Regions from separate parts of the Homo sapiens genome. Here all the other regions are linked to region 4. The links are contacts of gene promoters, found by promoter capture Hi-C in human tissues and cell types (Jung and others, 2019). All regions are on one chromosome and are shown on one strand. Each heading gives the region's core, a stretch centred on a gene start or on the middle of the fragment in contact. The rest is flanking DNA. Distances are from core to core; before and after follow the strand shown.

The links. The method cuts DNA at HindIII sites, captures the fragments that hold promoters and counts their contacts. A contact is called where the count stands out against the background at its distance.
Region 1: a fragment that was not itself captured here is called in contact with the fragment with the promoter of ISL2 in region 4 in 2 of the 25 tissues and cell types used here (lymphoblastoid cells and mesenchymal stem cells).
Region 2: a contact is called between a fragment that was not itself captured here and the fragment with the promoter of ISL2 in region 4, in 1 of the 25 tissues and cell types used here (lymphoblastoid cells).
Region 3: a contact is called between a fragment that was not itself captured here and the fragment with the promoter of ISL2 in region 4, in 2 of the 25 tissues and cell types used here (lymphoblastoid cells and small bowel).
Region 5: a fragment that was not itself captured here is called in contact with the fragment with the promoter of ISL2 in region 4 in 2 of the 25 tissues and cell types used here (dorsolateral prefrontal cortex and lymphoblastoid cells).

The regions. Positions count from the first base shown.
Region 1 is chr15:77,003,105-77,006,662 of GRCh38, reverse strand. The region is part of intron 1 of PSTPIP1 (proline-serine-threonine phosphatase interacting protein 1); the gene reads right to left. Among named protein-coding and RNA genes, the nearest start is that of PSTPIP1, 9.8 kb to the right of the region's middle. The HindIII fragment of the contact is 4,540 bases long and covers 1-3,558 here.
Region 2 is chr15:76,968,994-76,972,528 of GRCh38, reverse strand. No RefSeq gene overlaps it. Among named protein-coding and RNA genes, the nearest start is that of PSTPIP1, 24 kb to the left of the region's middle. The HindIII fragment of the contact is 4,270 bases long and covers 1-3,535 here.
Region 3 is chr15:76,879,226-76,882,946 of GRCh38, reverse strand. The region is part of intron 2 of SCAPER (S-phase cyclin A associated protein in the ER); the gene reads left to right. Among named protein-coding and RNA genes, the nearest start is that of SCAPER, 24 kb to the left of the region's middle. The HindIII fragment of the contact is 6,155 bases long and covers 1-3,721 here.
Region 4 is chr15:76,335,385-76,339,184 of GRCh38, reverse strand. ISL2 (ISL LIM homeobox 2) reads right to left here and starts at 2,412. Exons shown (of 6, transcript NM_145805.3): 1 at 2,244-2,412; 2 at 1,218-1,407; 3 at 671-933. The coding sequence starts at 2,301. RefSeq lists enhancers at 1,092-1,903, 2,329-2,378, 2,072-2,571, 2,383-2,677. The HindIII fragment of the contact is 8,596 bases long and covers 1-3,800 here.
Region 5 is chr15:76,942,531-76,946,011 of GRCh38, reverse strand. It overlaps RCN2 (reticulocalbin 2), which reads right to left. Exons shown (of 7, transcript NM_002902.3): 4 at 2,141-2,254. Among named protein-coding and RNA genes, the nearest start is that of RCN2, 13 kb to the right of the region's middle. The HindIII fragment of the contact is 3,320 bases long and covers 1-2,987 here.

The sequences.
Region 1 (3,558 bases), core at 985-3,484, 670 kb before region 4:
CATGCAAAAGAATTAAGCTGGACCCTTACTTTATACCATATGCAAAAATTAACTCAAGATGAAGTGAACACCTAGATGTAAGACCTAAAGCTACAAAATTTTAAAAGGAAAACATAGGGAAAGCTTCATGATATTTAATTTGGCAATTATTTCTCTGATATGATATTAAAATCATAGGCAACAAAACAAAGAGTAGACACATTGAATTCATCAAAATGAAAAACTTTTGTATATCAAAACAGTGAAAAGACACTCCAGAGTGGGAGAAAATATTTACAAATCATATATCTGATAAAGGATGAGTATCTAGAAAATATAAAGAACTCCTTCAACTCAACAATAAAAAGACAACCAATTCAAAAGTGGGCAAAGGTCTTAAATAGACTTTCTCCAAAGAAGGTACACAAATGGCCAATAAACACATGAAAAGATGCTCAACATCATTAATTATTAGAGAAATGCAAATCAAAACTACGATGAGATATTACTTCATGCCTCCTAAGGTGGCTATGATTTAAAAAAAAAACAGAAATTAACAAGAGTTGGCAAAGATATGGAGCAATTGGATCCCTTTTGCATTGCTGATGGGAATGTAAAACTGTTTGGCGGTTACTCAAAAAGTTAAACATAGGATTACCATATGATCCAGCAATTCCACTCCTAGGTATAATCTAAAAGAATTGAAAGCAGGGTTTCAAACAGGTACTTGTACACCAATGTTCATGGCAGCATTATTCACAGTAGCTCAAAGAAACAGCCCAGTGGTCATCAATGGATCAATGGATATACAAAATAAAGTATATACGTAGAATGGAATAGTATTTTGTCATAAAGAGGAAGAAAATTCTGACATATGCTATGACATGGATGAGCCTTGAAGACATTATGCTAACTGAAATAAGCCAGACACAAAAGGACAAATATTATCTGATTCTACTTACAGGAGATGCCTAGAATAGGCAAATCCATAGAGCTAGAAAGTAGAATCGAGGTAGAACAAGGTATGCGGTGAAGGGGTGGGGAGTTATTGTTTGATGGGTACAATTTCTGTTCAGGATGATGAAGCAGTTCAGGAAATAGTGAATGTTCTTAATGCCTCTGAATCATATACTTAAAAATTGTTAAAATGGTCAATTTTATGTTACATATAATTACCACCACCCCCAAAACTTCTAACCTCTGCTCACTCAGGTGAGTCAAATGAGGTCAGGAAAATGGTAAAAACCAGATGTATGCCTATTGTCAGCAATGGTAATTTTTGTTTTGTTTTGTTTTGATATTGAGTGTTTGCTCTTGTTGCCCAGGCTGGAGTGCAGTGGCACAATCTTGGCTCACTGCAACCTCTGCCTCCCAGGTTCAAGCAATTCTCCTGCCTCTGCCTCTCAAGTAGCTGGGATTACAGGCATGCACCACCATACCTGGCTACATTTTTTGTATTTTTAGTAGAGACAGGGTTTCACCATGTTGGCCAGGCTGGTCTTGAACTCCCGACCTCAGGTGATCTGCCCACCTTGGCCTCCCAAACTGCTGGGATTATAGGCATGAGCCACCATGCTTGGCCAGCAATGGTAATTAATTACCACAATTATCTATGTTGATGCCTCTCAAGCTAAAGTTCCACATGGAGGCACTGGGGAACTTTGAAAAATACTGATGTCCAGGTCCTACCCTCAGAAATCGGGGTGTAATTGACCTGGGGTGTGGCCTGGGCATTGGGATTTTTTAGAATGACAGTCCTACAAGATCTGGCTCTCTGCTTCTCTTTTCTTTCTTTGTTTTTTTTGTTTGTTTGTTTGTTTGTTTTGAGACAGTCTTGCTCTGTTGCCCAGGCTGGAGTGCAGTGGTGCGATCATACAGTCACTACAGTTTCCAACTCCTGGGCTCAAGTGACCCTTCCACTCCAGCTTCCCAAGTAGCTGAGACTACAGGTGTGCACCACCAGGTACAGCTAATTTTTGTACTTTTTTTTTTTTTTAAGAAGTGGTTTCACCATGTTGCCCAGACTGGTCTTGAACTCCTGGGTTCAAGTGATCTTCCCACCTCAGCCTCCCAAAGTGCTGGGATTACAGGTGTGAGCCACCACGCCTGGCCACTGTTCTATTTCTTACCTTATCTCCAACTACTCTCCACCTTGGTCACTCTCTCTAGCCACGCAGGCATGCTCTTGCCTCAGCCCATCACCCCCTGACTTCCTCCCCAGTGTGGCTGTTTCCCGTTCCTGTTTCCACAGCTGGGAAGCCCTGAGTTCCATCTGGCCACCACATCCCCACACTGGCTGCTGGTCTCCAGGGCTCCAGCTGGCACTTCCTGTTGCCCAATGGTGGGTGGCCTGTCAACACCAGTGGAAGGAGCTGTCGCTCTCCTGCCTGTTCCATCACCCATTGCTCAGTGTGCCAGGCCTCAGCAAACCAACACACCCTCCCATTAACTGCAAAGGGCTCTCTGACCCAGACCTGGGAAGGTGGCATCCAGGCCCAGCCCAGTCCGATCCATCTGTGTGGCATCCCCCAGGCCCACATTCCTTCCAAGAGGCTCAGTTTCCTCTCTGTAAAACAGGAATAAGAATACTGACCTCACAGGACTATTGTTGGAATTAAGTGAGATAACATAGATCATCTTGTTACTTGAAACCAAAGGAATGATTCTCTAATGGTGGAGTATAACATGCAATGGTGAACATGATTGGAGGAGGCATTCTGAAACAGCAAGATCTATGTATAAGGCTCACCCTATGGGTGCATATCCAATTATAAATCTGGGTCCCCTGGGAACTGTTCCTGGTCTGCTACTCCACTGTGGTGAGCAGGAGGTGGTCCCTTAGCACTGCCCTGAGCCGCCCCAACCTCAAAGCCCTTATCTTAAGTGATGACGACCCTGACATCCTGCAGATGAGGAAACTGAGGTTCAGAAAGGGAAAATGATTCTCCAAGGCCACCTAGCAAGTGTGGGTGAGGGTTGGGTGAGGCTTCAAAGAAGCCCGCTTCCTTCTTCTTCTTTTTTTTTTTTTGAGACGGAGTTTCGTTCTTTTGCCCAGGCTGGAGTGCAATTGTGAAACCTCAGCTCACTGCAACCTCCACCTCCTGGGTTCAAGCGATTCTCCTGCCTCAGCCTCCTGAGTAGCTGGGATTACAGGCATGCGCCACCATGCCCCGCTAATTTTTTTGTAGTTTTAGTAGAGACAGGGTTTCACCATGGTGGCCAGGCTGGTCTCGAACCCCTGACCTCAGATGATCCACCCGCCTCGGCCTCCCAAGAAGCCGATTTCCTTCTAAGCCTGGAGGATGGAGCATGACTGAGTCTGTGAGGGAGGAACCTTCCAGAGCCAACCCAGAGGAGAGTCCTGGTGTGGGCAGCCCAGGGCCCAGGGCATCATGCTCTCTAGCTGGAAGCAGAGGCAGTCTTGGTTTCCACCCAAAGTTCCCTCCATCATGTGGTTTGCAGCGTCAGCCAGGCTCTGGGTGAGGAGGAAGGGCATCCCACTCACAGCCCGCAGCCTCTGTCCTCTTTTGCATGAGAGGAAACAGCCACCACCAGAGAGGGTGCAGAGAGGCAGAAGAA
Region 2 (3,535 bases), core at 725-3,224, 630 kb before region 4:
TTTTGTCCAAAATCTGGACATTAACTTCATAGGCAAAGACGATTACATAACATCTCTCTTATGTTAAGGACTTTTTAATCTGGAACTTCTGCATAGTCACATAGCTGGAAGGAATTTCGGTGGTATTTTCAATAATTCAGTACTATTTTTTAAATGTGCTTGAAAATTCTATAAATTGACTTAGGAATACTATACTTAACTGGGAATGTAAGTATACATACTATATTTTTACATATGTATATCCACGATATATTTTGCTCCCCAAATTATTTTTCATCTTCACATTGCATTGGCCCTGAGTTTGAAATAACAAGCTTATTCTAAGCAGAGAGGAAACTGGTGAAGGAAGATGATTTTGAAGAGAGTTTTGAGAAGTATTTATGTTTCTTCTCCCTTTAAAACTCTTGAAAATAATCATAGCCACAATATCCCACTTAAAAACAATTGACAATAATTTTAATATAATCAAATATTCAGCCAGTGTTCAAATTTCTAATTGTGTTTCATATGTCACCAAAAAATTATTTTATTCTGTTCAGATTGTTTGAATCTTGATCTAAATAAGTTTTGCAGGTTGTGATTCTTTTAACTATCAGTTTCCTTTACATGTCTGTCTGTTTTTCTTTACAGCCTATTTGTTTAAGAAACTAGATAATAAGGCCCAGTGCAGTGGCTCACACCTGTAATCCCAGAAATTGGTAGGCCGAGGAGGGTGGATCACTTGAGCCCAGGAGTTTGAGACCAGCATGGGCAACATAGCAAAACCCTGTCTCTGCCAAAAAACAAAACCAAAAATTAGCCAGGTATGGTGGTGTGCACCTGTAGTCCCAGCTCCTCAGGGGGGCTGAGGCAGGAGGATCACTTGAGTCTGGGAGATTGAGGCTGCAGTGAGCTGTGATCATGCTGCTGCACTCCAGCATGGGTGACAGACGAGACCCTGTCTCAAAAACAAAGAAAAGAAAAGAGAAAGAAAGAAACTAGATCATTTATCCTGTAGAGCTTCCCACAGTATAGAATGACTGATTGCATATCCATTGTGTCCTTTAATATTTTCTTCTATCTCCTGTATTTCCTGTAAATTGCCATTTGAATCTAGATTCAGGTCCAATTTTTTGGCAAGAATACTTCATAGGAGGCCTATGAGGTCTGGTTATCTCAATTTGTGATATTAGCAGACATTGCTGATCAGTGCCACTATCCATTAATTAGGGATTGCCACATGGCAATATTCTAATTCTACCATTTCTTCTTGATTTACGAGCTGAATTACTTCTATAAAGAGAAACGTCTCCTTATCTACTATTTGGTTACCCAGTAGTAGTTTGTACAGTATAGGCGGGATAAATGCTCAATTATTTCTCTTTATCAGTTTATGAACCACCGAATACTCCAAAGGTGACCAATTAGATATGTTTTAGTATCATTATGAACTCATGGAGTTAAACATATTTGATGTGCTTCAATCCATTGCAATTTTTGCCTTTATTGATGCAAAAATGGTCCCATCTTTGGCCAGAGGGGGCCTCTTCAAGTTGACTCCTGAGTCCTTTGGACACCACCCTAGCTGTCTTAGAGAACTTTCTTGCCATCTGATATGGCCAATGTTCCAGTCACCTGTTGTCCATTTCCTGTCTCAGACCTGGAATCAATCACTTTTTCAGGGAACACTAGTTCTTTTACTGGGTATATTTCAAGAAGATAATCTAGGTACTGGGGTGCTCATAGCTACTGAAATGCTTATTGTTCTTAGGTCTTTTCTGAGGTCAGAACTAGGAAATACATTTTTTCTCAATATAAATATAAGGCACATCATAAGTTCATATTGATACTTTCAATTAAATTTAGGTCTACAGGGTGTTTGCACAACCTCTTCCTTCTTCCATCTGTACCTCCTTTCTCCCATGTCCAGAATCTCATTTCTCAAAAACACCAGGAATTCCAGAATTAGAATTTCACATAATTTCTCATTTGCTTCATTCCACACTGCACACAACAGTCTCAGAACACCAATACCAAGTCTCCCATCAGCCAAGTGACTGCTGAAAACAATTTAAGATTTTCGTTTGTGTATTTGCAGTTCTTTTTGTCTTCAGGCTATATCCTTTTGGGGTTGTACAGTCAAATTACTGTGTTTAGAACAGTTCATCTGTGTGCTGACTCCACCAACCAGATGCACATTATGTTTATTTGCTTCTTTTTGGGGGGATTCATTTTTATGTAATTTTTTTACTTTTATGAAATATTTACTCAGTTCCAAAGTCACATGTACAAAACAAGCTATCTTCAAATAAGTCCAGCTTCCATCTCTATCTCTTCCGTTCTGCTCCCTCTCTCCTCCTACAGGTAGCCACTTTTCATTGCTTTATCCTTCCATTGCTTGTGTGCTTTTAAATATAAGCAGATACATTTACATGTTTATATATTTGCATCCCTGCCTTCCTTAGAGAACTGTGAGACACACATTCCTTTTCTTAATGATATATTCTATATGGAAACAGTCTTCACTTCTTTCTCCAGCTACCTAGTACTTCTTGGCATGGCTGTACCATAGTTCATTCAGCCAGCCTATTGACAGACATTTGGGCTGTTTCTCATTACAAATAGTCCTGCAACTAATTGCCTTTTTTGATTATGTTTTGTTTTGAGACAGAGTCTTGCTCTGTCGCCTAGGCTGGAGTGCAGTGGCTTGATCTGGGCTCACTGCAACCTCTGTCTCCTGGGTTCAAGTGATTCTCCTGCCTCAGCCTTGTGAATAGCTGGGACTACAGGCACGCGCCACCATACCCGGCTAATTTTTGTATTTTTTTAGTACAGACAGGGTTTCACCATGTTGGCCAGGCTAGTCTCCAATTCCTGGCCTCAAGTCATCCACCCACCTCAGTCTCCCAAAGCGCTGGGATTACAGATGTGAGCCACCACGGCAGGCTTGCCTTTTGTATTTTGATCTGAGTTCATTTTAGATGCAAATCCTGTACATCCTTATTTCACAGAGTTTTTCTATATTACCAATGTGGTCAAGACTCTCCCCTGCTTAAAACCCATCAACAGTTTTTGATCATTCATAGGATAAAGTCCAAATTCAGCTTGACAGACAGCACCCACCAGACCTGCCTGGCCCCTCATATTGGTCTATCTTCTTGTCAGAGGCATTCGAACCAGAGCGACTCCATTTTGAGTAAGGGCTAGGAAAATGGGGCTGGGAATTGCTGGGCTGCATTCTCAGAAAGTCAGGCATTCCTGGCCTCTAGATATTTACAGTTAAGGGAAAAAATTAATAATGTTTACTAAACAGACCCAGACGGGAATGTCCAGATATCCTGATATCTGGAGAACACAGGCATTCCTAATTTTGCTTTAAAGATAATAATATCAATTCTTGCAAAATATCATAATTAAGAAAATTAATCCTTTATCACAAACCCTTGTAGCAGAGCACATCTCTCCATATATACAAGCATTGTACCCAGGGTGGACGCCTTCCTCCTCTTACTTTCGGGAACGTCCTGCTCTGTCTATGGAGTAGCCGTCCTTTCAC
Region 3 (3,721 bases), core at 617-3,116, 540 kb before region 4:
CACGCCTGTAATCCCAGCACTTTGGGAGGCCTAGACGGGCGGATCACAAGGTCAGGAGACCGAGACCATCCTGGCTAACACGGTGAAACCCCGTCTCTGCTAAAAATACAAAAAATTAGCCTGGCGTGGTGGTGGGCGCCTGTAGTCCCAGCTACTCAGGAGGCTGAGGCAGGAGAATGGCATGAACCCGGGAGGCGGAGCTTTCAGTGAGCCAAGATCGTGCCACTGCACTCCAACCTGGGCTATAGAGCGAGACTCCGTCTCAAATAAAAGAAAAAAAGAAAGAGCAGGAGAGCATCTATTTGTTGTATGCTCTTATTTCATCCCTCCCACTTCATACTCTTCCTCAGTTCTAAGGTTTTGATTTTTCATATCTGTCATTTGGGGTTATTTTCTGTTGGTCTGCTTTTGGGTCTTTTGGTCATAAACTATGCTTTTGTTTGCCAGAAGATTTCTTTTTTTTTAATCTGCCCTAATTTTGAAAAATGGTCTTAGAGGGGATAGAAGTCTAGGTTGACAGATTTTTTTTCTCTTAATATCTTTTTTTTTTTCTTCTGGAGACAGAGTCTCTCTGTCACCCAGTCTGGAGTGCAGCGGCACAATCATAGCTCACTGCAGTTTTTATCACCTGGGCTCAAGCAGTCCTCCCACCTCAGCCTCCTAAGTAGCTTGGAACTATAGGTGCATGCCAGTTTTTTATTTTTAATTTTTTTGTAGCGATAGGGTCTTGCTTTGTTGCCCAGGTGATCTTGAACTCCTGACCTCAAGTGATCCTCCTGCTTTGGCCTTCTTCCACAGGGCTGGGATTACAGGCATGAGCTACTATGCCTGGTCTTTCTTAGTATCTTGACAAAAGAGATTCCACTGTCCTCAGCTTCTTTTTGATTTTTAGGGAATTCTTTTTCCTTTGATTTAATTTTAATTTAATAGCATATGCAGCATTTACATGGTTCAAAATTCAAACTATAAAACAGTGTTCATTTAGAGAAATTCAGCTTTCTTCTCTCTTCTTCCTCTTCTTCCCTTGTGGGTAACATTAATTTTTTTAAATTGTGCTAATACAAATAACATGACATTTACCATCTGAACCATTTTTAAGTATACAGTTCAGTGGTATTAAGTACATTCATATTGTTGTGCAGCTATCACTATTATTCATCTTCAGAACTCCTTGTCTTGAAATATTGAAACTCTATACATTAAACAATAATTTCCCATTTCCCTTCACCCCCTGCTCCTGTACCACTTGCTGTCTCTGTGATTTTGACTACTTTATGTACCACATATAAGTGAAATCATCCAGTATTTGTCTTTTTGTGTTTGGCTTATTTCATTTAGCATAATGTCTTCAAGGTTCATCCATGTTGTAGCATATGTCAGATTTCCCTCCTCTTTAAGACTGAATAATATTCTGTTATAAATAAATAATAATAATATATTACGTTTTGCTTATCCATTCATCAGACACTTGGGCTGTTTCCCCTTTTTAGCTATTGTGAATGTTGATGCTATGAACATGGGTGTACAGATATCTCTTCAAGACTGTTTTCAGGCCAGACGCAATGGCTTACGCCTGTAATCCTAGCACTTTGGAAGGCCGAGCCAGTTGGCTCACTTGAGGTCAGGAGTTTGAGACCAGCTTGGCCAACATGGCGAAACCCTGGCTCTACTAAAAATACAAAAAATTAGCTGGCATGGTGATATGCACCTTTAGTCCCAGCTACATGAGAGGCTGAGGCATGAGAATCGCTTGAACCCAGGAGGCGGAGGTTGCAGTGAGCCATGATCATATCACTACACTCTAGCCTTTGTGTCAGAGCAAGACTCTGTCTCCAAAAAGTAAATAAATAAATAAAATAGTAAAGAACTGTTTTCAGTTATTTCGGGTACGTAACCAAAAGTGGAACTTGTAGATAATATGGTAAATCTATTTTTAATGTTTGGAGGAACTGTCATAGTGTTTTCCGCAGTGGCTGCAACATTTAAAATTCCCACCAACAGTGCACAAGGGTTCCAGTTTTTCCACATCCTCACCAACATTTTTTATTTTCTGTTTTTTTGATGGTAGCCATTTTAATGGGTGCATGGGTAATCGTTTTTCTTAATGTTTGATTTATCTTTTATATTTTCAAAATGAATGTATACATTTATATGTATATACATGTGTTTTTCTTTTTTGAACCTAAAGGTAATATATTTTAGTATCTTGGGAGTTTTTTTTTTTTCTTTTCACTTAGCAATATATCCTAGAGTGTTAGAGATCTTCGTTTCTTTTTATAGCTGCATACTATTTCCTATTGATCTCTGTTTTAAAACTCTAGCAGGTAAGATATAGTAAAGTTTTTCTTATCTGCCAATTGTGACTCTAAGGAATATGTCCAAAAACCTGAAAGTAAATGAAAAATGCTTATGATCATACACAACAGATAGTCCACACACTGTAAGTATATTCACTGTACTTGCAGAATTCTTGAGTTCCTTATTCAGAACTGTAATAGTACATTTCCCATAAGCCTACCAAATAAGAATTGACAGCTAATAGCTTGTTAGGGAAGAGGAGAAAATAATTAAGAATTAAGCTTTTGTGTTCTTCTTAATCATCAGGAAGTAAAGAACTAAAAAATCTTTAACAACACTTTTGTCTGTGCCCATTTATTTTAGGACAACTGTCTTTTGTATTTCTATAACTCCTGAGGCATAATTAAATTATAGTATCATATAGAAGTTGGTGTTCATAGTGGTAACCTGAAGTTATCAAGAAAAGAGTAAGTTTCTTTAGTAGCCTCTGTCGCAGAGGTCAAGGAAATGTGTTCAGAGATTTTCATACAAAATAATAAAACCAAAAAGAATTTGTGCTTAGCGGGGCAAACCTAAGTTATCAATTTATGTAGAACACCTCATTTCCCAATAATGTTCATTTATTGATGCTTTTTAAAAATCATTCTGCCAGTTATTCATTTATTCATACATATTTATGTGCCAGACACCATCCTACACAGTGAGAATAGTGAACAAAACCTAGTCCTTCAGAAACTTACTGTCTAATGGAAGACAGAGTAAACACATTAAGTGTATGATTTAAAATATAATTGTGGTTAAGTGTTACAAAGGAGTACAAGTTGGTTTGAGTATATAAAAGGAATCCTGGCCAAGTCTCGGGGTTGAAGAAAACTTAGCCTTAGGACGTTACATTTAAGTTGGGATTCGAAAGATCATTAGGCTTTGGCTGGGCTAAGAGGAATACTCTCTTAGAATGCTTTCAGTAGCAAGTAGAGTTGGCTTCAGATAAGAATTGATCCAGTGGCTCAACAGTGTCATCAAAAATTTGATTGCTTTTCCTCCACTTACTCTGGCTTCTGTTCTGTTGCCATTATTTTAAGGCTTGCTGTCTTTATGATCCCTAGATGCTTAGCAGTAGTTTCCAAAGCTGTATATTCCCTAACATATGGCCAGTAGGAGAGTCTTTTCTCTAACATTCCAGTAAAAGATCTGAGATCCTAAGTTTTGATCACCTTAGGTCACATGCTCACCTCTGGATCAGTTGTTGTGGCTAGGCGAGCAGATTGACTTAGGCAAGGTCATGTGCTGCACCCTGGAGTTAGGGACAAAAGGTGCTTACCTAGAACCACAAGGGACCCCAACAAAAATTGAACTATTAGGAAAGGAGGATGTAGAGAATGAATGCTAGGGAAGAAGCCAATAAATGTGCATTATAGAGGGG
Region 4 (3,800 bases), core at 1,163-3,662:
GCCTGGGGTGGAGGCACCTCTGTTTCTGTTCAGCCGTACCTGCCCATTATACACTCAGACCCCATCTCTGGGCAGCTGCTGATTAGGACCCAGAATATTCCAGTGACAGTCCACTATGCATTGATACTCCCCCTCCCCCAGAAGAACCTGGCTAAATTGTTCATCAAACTGGGCCTCAAAACAAGATGGCAAAAACCCCTCTTTGTTGGGTTCTTGGCTCCTGGCTGACCAAGCTCCTGCCCAGCTCCCAGTTTGGAGCTGTGTTACTTACACACATACCCCTGGGCAAACCTTACCCTCTGACAATAACACATATTCCTCCAAGAAATTCCTAATACAAGCCCCAAGACGGACACCACTTAAGATTCCCTGTTGTCATCCACTCTTCTGCTCCTAGCACTGTGCCCTGCATGTTCCTGGTCATGGAGAACACGATTCTGCACAATTCTCCGTGCTCACACACTCATACACACGCAGTTTCTCCCGAGCACACGAGAATACACACAGCCTTGTTCCCAGCACACAGTTCCGCACTGATACAGAAAAACACTATCCCGGCAGACGGAACCACACACAACTGACAACTTCTCGTTAGGGACACAAGCGTACCCCTACACACACGCACGCACATACACCCCGCTCACCCCGGCACAGGCCCCGGCGCGCTTACCGGGCAGATGCAGGCCGCGGGCGCCGGGAAGCGGGCCGGGGCTGCGCGGGCTGCCGGCCGCGGCGCGCTCGAGCAGGAGGCCGTGGTCGGCGCGGCAGAGCAGCTCGTGCTCCCGCAGCGAGAACTCGTCCCCAGGCAGCAGCTGGCGGCTGCACACGGAGCAGCGGAAGCACTCGATGTGGTACACGCTGTCCCGCGCCCTCATCACCAGGTCGCTGCTGCTGAAGCCCACCTGGCACTTGGCGCACTTGATGCCGAACAGCCTGCGGGCCCAAGGTGCGGCGGTGTCAGCGCTGGGCCTGCGGCCGCCCTCATCTCCCTGGCTGCTACGGCTCCGGCGCGCGCCCAGGACACTTTGTGGCCACCAGGAGACTGCGGTGACCCGCCTGCGGGCATTCCCGGGCCCGGGGGAGCGCTGCGGCACCCGTGCGGGATGCGGATGGCCTTCTCCCTGGGCAGGGCCGGGGCGCGCGGGCAGGCCGCCATCCCCAGTCCCGGCCCCGGCCCCTGCGCGCGGTGGCCCAGCCCGCGTTCCCGCCGGCCTCACCTGACATAGTCCCGCTTGCAGTAGGTCTTCCCGTCTCTCACGAAGCACGTGCACGTCTCGTCCAGGTACTGGCTGCACTCGGCACACTTGAGGCAGGCCGCGTGCCACTCGAGGTCGGGCGACACCCGCAGGATAAACTGGTCGTGGATCTGACTCCCGCAGCCCACGCACATGGCCGTCCCGGGCTTCTCTGCCGGGGAAGGGCGCGGGGCCGCGTCAGGCCTGACTGCCCGGACCCAGGCCGGCCTCGGCTACTCCAGCCCCAACCCAACCCGCTCGCTCTCTTGCTCTTTCTTTCAAGACTTGCGACCATAAGGAAAGATGATGAGCTCTCTAAAGGTCCAGGGCATTGGAAACGAAAAACCAGTATCTTGTGGATTGCTGAAGGTTTCTTCTGTCCCCCACCCCAAATATTTCGTTATTACATTCATTAATGACAGTCGTTTTGTCGACGTGTCTTGAAACTAAACGCAAACACGAAACTAAGAAGAGAGTAAATACACAGGCACTGCGGACGCCTGGATATCAACACCTAACGGTGCTGTCCTGGCATTTCCGCTCACACACTCCCACTCACAGCGGCTGCCTCCTATCCCAACACAGACACATCGTCTTTCGGCAGTCCCCGCTCATCCTCTCAGACATTTCTTAGTTTAAATATCCCAGAGCAAGCGAAAGAAAGCTTCCTAGCTTTGAAAAACCGAAAGGCAAACAAACAACAACCAAAAAAAAAAAAACCCACATCCCTAAATCAAACCTAATTGCCTTTGCGCAAAACAGAAGCAGATTTCGCAGCCCGAAGTCATCCTAGCCGGCTTGAGAAATAGTGTTTACTTATAAAATAAAACAACAGGATTCCCAAAGATAAGCAGTCCTGCAGGAGACATGCATTCGTTTTTCCTCTCCTAAACTATTCTGACAAATAGAAGCCACTTGTAGAATCCACTAAACATTTTTCTGCATTAGAAATTTTGCATATTAAGCATACACACACACCCCACCCCACACACACACAGAAATACTTACTCTTGGAATGATCACCCATAGCACCCAGAAAAGGATAATGAAAAATAATATCCACCATGCAGAAAAAGAGATGTGCGCAAAGTGTGCGGCCAGGGGCAGAAGGACGAGGGTCGCGCGCCCGGCCTCGGCTCTTTGCTAACTAACTCCTACTGCCCCGCGGAGTTGAAGGAGCGATTCCGCACCGGCCCGCACGCAGCATGACGTCAACACGCACTAGCCCCGGGCCGGAGCTGGGGGCGGGACCTGTGGCGTCACGAAGCTTCCCCAGAACTGCCGGGGATGCGGGGGAGGTGATGGGGATCCAGGGGCTGATGGGCGGGGTGGGTTGGGTTGGAGGCTGGGGGTGAAGGGAGATTGGCTGGGAGGAAGTGGGCCAACCCTGATTGGCCCGGAGTGAACAATGGAGTGCAGCCCCCCCACCTCCGAAACCTACAAGGATCCTCTCTCATGCCCCGGGCCTGGCAATCTGGACTGGACCTTGCGTCACCGCCGAGCTGGCTCCGCGGCCGTTACAACTCTGAGCTTCCTCTTGGACTTTCGGGGCGGTTTTCCCAGGCGCGCTGGAGCTGGGTGATGGATACCTGAGGGTGGAGATGGCTCTCCTTTAAGAGCTCCCTTCTTATATAAATTAAAAAAAAAAAAATTAAACCCACTCTCAGGACGAGAGAGCCGAGGACAAGGGGGATCCGTTTGGACGTGACCGTCATCGTCCAGCTGGTCACCTTTCTCCTCTCATGTGCCTTTGTTCTTCGGGTCCAAGCTAGAGAGAGTGTAGAGAATGACCACCTGGGTTCTGATAAACTCTATTTAGACTTTCCTATCCACACACACGTAGAAAACTTTAGATTGGGGCATTACGTGGGTTGAGCCAGAACCCAGATCCAAAAGCGCTCACCCGGGACTGGGACGGGTCCTGACTCCATCCTTGCTGCTGCTGCCGCTGCTGCTGCCCCTCCTCCCTCTCCTCCACCACCACCTCCTCCTCCTGCTCCACTTCCTTTTTTTTGTTGTTTTGTTTTGCTTTTAATTTGTTGCTGTTGTTGTTTTAAATGTAACATGGACTTCCCCGCCCCCTCATTTTTCCCCCATCCAAATGGCATAGCTCCTTTTAGGAACACTGCTGGGGTCGATTGCGTGTCCAACTTCCAAAATAAAAGATTTTTCTAAACTCTTGTCCTTCATTAACAAACCCACTGCAATGCAAATAATCAGAAACGAACGTAAGGCGCTGGGTAATTTACAGTGGTATCTGCGAGGCGGCGGCTCGTTGGTCCTGAGAAAATCTGAGAGCTCTGAGCACAGTCCAGGCATTCTTTCAAAGAAATCGCTGTGGGTTTTGTTTGAAAGGGTTCAAAGACCGGCCCATGAATTATAAATAACATTTATCCAACCATGGTGTCTGTTCTTGTTTTCCCATTAAAAGGAGTACCAAGAACTTGGTGTGCGCCTGGGTGGGGCGCGAGGTGAAACGCCTGCGGATAAAGTGTCTCCACCGCCATTCCAGACCCTGCCCAGACCTTCGGGCTTGTGGGCCTGAGGGCGCGGTCGCTACTGCCG
Region 5 (3,481 bases), core at 78-2,577, 610 kb before region 4:
TCCCCTCTTTAGTCTTCAATTGTTCCTTATTCTCCAGAGAATCAAGATCTAGCATCCTTTGCCTGTCATTCTTGGGCTCAATTAGCTTTTCCCAACTTAATTTTGGTACTTAAATTACACCCAGCACTGTTCTTAAACTGGGTCATGTATTCTGTGCCAATGAGAAATTAGAAGCTTCACAATGGCAAGAGAAGTGGTATTAATGACAGTGTCTTACCACTGAGCTATGGAGAAAAATGTATCTGCAGCCTTGTTATGCAAGGCAGCAGGGTCTACCATGACACATTAAACAAAAAGATATATCTTCCTTCTTTGAAATATCCAGGGAACCAAGCCACGTAGCTGGAGGCTGATGTCATGCAACAGACTTCAATATAAATGTTTAGTCTCTTTTTTAAAAAGCTATTTGTTACATTAGTCTTTATTTCCCAGTGTGATGGTTTATGCTTTCAAGCTTGGCCAAGTCATAATAGGGACTCAATTTATGTTTGTTGAGTTAAACTTACAATTCAACAAAAGTTTTGAAAAACTGGTACTTATTTTAAATATTAAAGGGATGAGAGGACTCATTATACTTAAAATTGCAAAAACATTACTAGTTAACTAGCAGCTGCACCCCTACCAACCCTATGAAGAATCCAAACATGATGTTTTTCCAGACCAAAAGCTTTCATAAGTGATGTTGTAAATTAAACAGAAATCCTAATATTACTAACATTGAAAAACCAAAAAAAATCTGAAAGCTACAAAAGGATAAGGAAGGCACTGAAGGTAACACAGTTATGAGAGAAAATAGCCTGAGGAAGCCTGCTGTTCATACATAGTACAGAGATTTAAAAATTCAGTCTTTCACCTTCTCCCTCCCAATAAGCAACTTCGTCACCACAAGAAAGCCTCCTTACCAAGCCTAATTTTAAGTGGGGAGAATGAGCATCATTTTAAATCTGTGTATCTCTTAAAATTCTGGTTATACAATTCATTTTAACAACTTAATGAACAGGTTTTAAAGTTTTGGTTACTTGGAAATGTAAATTCATACAACCACTATGGAGAACAGTTTGGAGGTTCCTCAAAAAACTAAAAATAGAGCTACCATATGATCCAGCAATCCCACTGCTGGGTATATACCCAAAAGAAAGGAAACCACTATGTCAAAGAAATATCTGCACTCCCATGTTTGTTGTAGCACTGTTCACAAAAGCCAAGATTTGGAAGCAACCCAAGCGTACATCAACAGATGAATGGATAAAGAAAATGTACATATACACAATGGAGTACTATTCAGTCATAAAAAAGAAAGAGATCCTGCAACAACATGTTGATCCACACAACAGCATGGATGAACTGGAGATCATATTAAGTGAAATAAGTCAGGCACAGAAAGACAAACATCCCATGTTCTCACTCATTTGTGGGATCTAAAAATCAAAACAATTGAACTCATGGACATAGACGGTAGAAGATGGTTACCAGAGACTGGGAAGTGTTGGGGGAGGGGGCGCTGAGAACAGTTAATGAGTACAAAAAAAACAGTAAGAATGAATAAGATCTATTATTTGACAGCATAACAGGGTTGACTATAGTCAGTAGTAACTAATTATACATTTTAAAATAACTAAAAGAGTGTTCACGGGATTGTTAGTAACACAAAGGATAAAAGTTCGAGGGGATGGATACCTCATTGTCTATGATCTGATTATTTCACATTGCATGCCTGTATCAAAACATCTCGGCCGGGCGCGGTGGCTCACGCTTATAATCCCAGCACTTTGGCAAGCCGAGGCGGGCGGATCACGAGGTCAGGAGATTGAGACCACGGTGAAACCCCGTCTCTACTGAAAATACAAAAAATTAGCCAGGTGTAGTGGCGGGCGCCTGTAGTTCCAGCTACTCAGAGAGGCTGAGGCAGGAGAATGGCGTGAACACGGGAGGCGGAGCTTGCAGTAAGCCGAGATCGCCCCACTGCACTCCAGCCTGGGCGACAGAGCGATACTCCGTCTCAAAAAAAAAAAAAAAAAAAAAAAAAAGTCTCATGTATCCCATAAACATATATACCTACTATGTACCCACAAAAATTTTAAATATATTTTTTTAAAGTTTTGGTCACTCAATAATTCTCTTAAAAATGTTTCTTTCTTACCGTCATATAATCAACTTCTTCAGGATGCTCAAAAGCAATAAATTCTTCAAGACTCAAACCGGGACCTGAATCCTGGTTAGCTTTTTCAAATCGCTTCTTGTCCTTTAAGTGAAGCTTTGAAAATTAAAATTTCTCATTAGTATACCACATCATTTTAAATACTTTGAAAAATACAAACTATGTGAAATTTAAAGTACATTCCCATCCGTTATCTCATTTATCTTCACATCGTCCCTTTGAAGGTAAGCTACACAAATACATGTATTAGGGGCAGGATAGACTCACAAGCTCTAGAGTCATATAGACCCAGACCTGAATTCCAGCAATGCCACTTACTAGCTGTGGTGTCAGCGCAAACTGCTTAACCTCTCTGGTTTCCTCATCTATCAAACTGGGATAAAAATCTCTAATAAGCAATTGGGATGAGAATCCCTACCACACCATTAATAAACCTTAAGTATTTAGTGTTATATACTATTATTGATAGAAAAGCAGATTGAATGATTTGATAAAAGTCAGAAATACAGCTAAAAAATACTGAGCATGGCATAGTGGCGCACGCCTGTAGTTCCAGCAACTTGGGAAGACTGCATGAGCCCAGAAGTTCAAGGCCAGCCTTCACACCATAGCAAGACCCTGACTCAAAAAACAAACAAAACTACTGAACTTGGATCCTCCCTATTCTTTCTACAGTACTATACTGTCTACTTTAATAATTAATCTCAATACTTTTTTGAATGCCCAAAAATCAATAACTTTATACCATGTATTAAATCTTGGTAGGGCTTTTAAAAAATGTTTCTGGTCCTCTAAGTGACTTTTCAAAAATACATTATTGTTTCAGAAAAACAGTCTTCTTATGTTGAGAATCTCATAATATTAGTATATGTACCTAATATTTGGAAATCTTTTCTTTTTTGGGGGGTGGGGAGATGAGGTCTCACTCCGTCATCCAGGTTGGAGTACAGTGGTGCAATCTCGGCTTACTGAAACCTCCACCGCCCAGGTTCAAGTGATCCTCCCACCCCAGCCTCCCAAGTAGTGGGGACCACAGGCATGTGCCACCACACCCAGCTAATTTTTTGTATTTTTGATAGAGATGGGGTTTCACTATGTTGCCCAGGCTGGTCTCAAACTCCTGAGCTCAGGCTATCCACCTGCCTCAGCCTCCCAAAATGCTGGGACTACAGGCATGAGTCACCGTGCTCAGCCTGGAAGTCTAGTCTTAGCAGGCTCTTTATAGTGTTAATTCTGTATATTCAGATATAAATAACATCAAAAGTTTAAATGGATCCCATGTTAAGGTTTAATAAACACATATCCTTTTCTACTTTCTCTCCC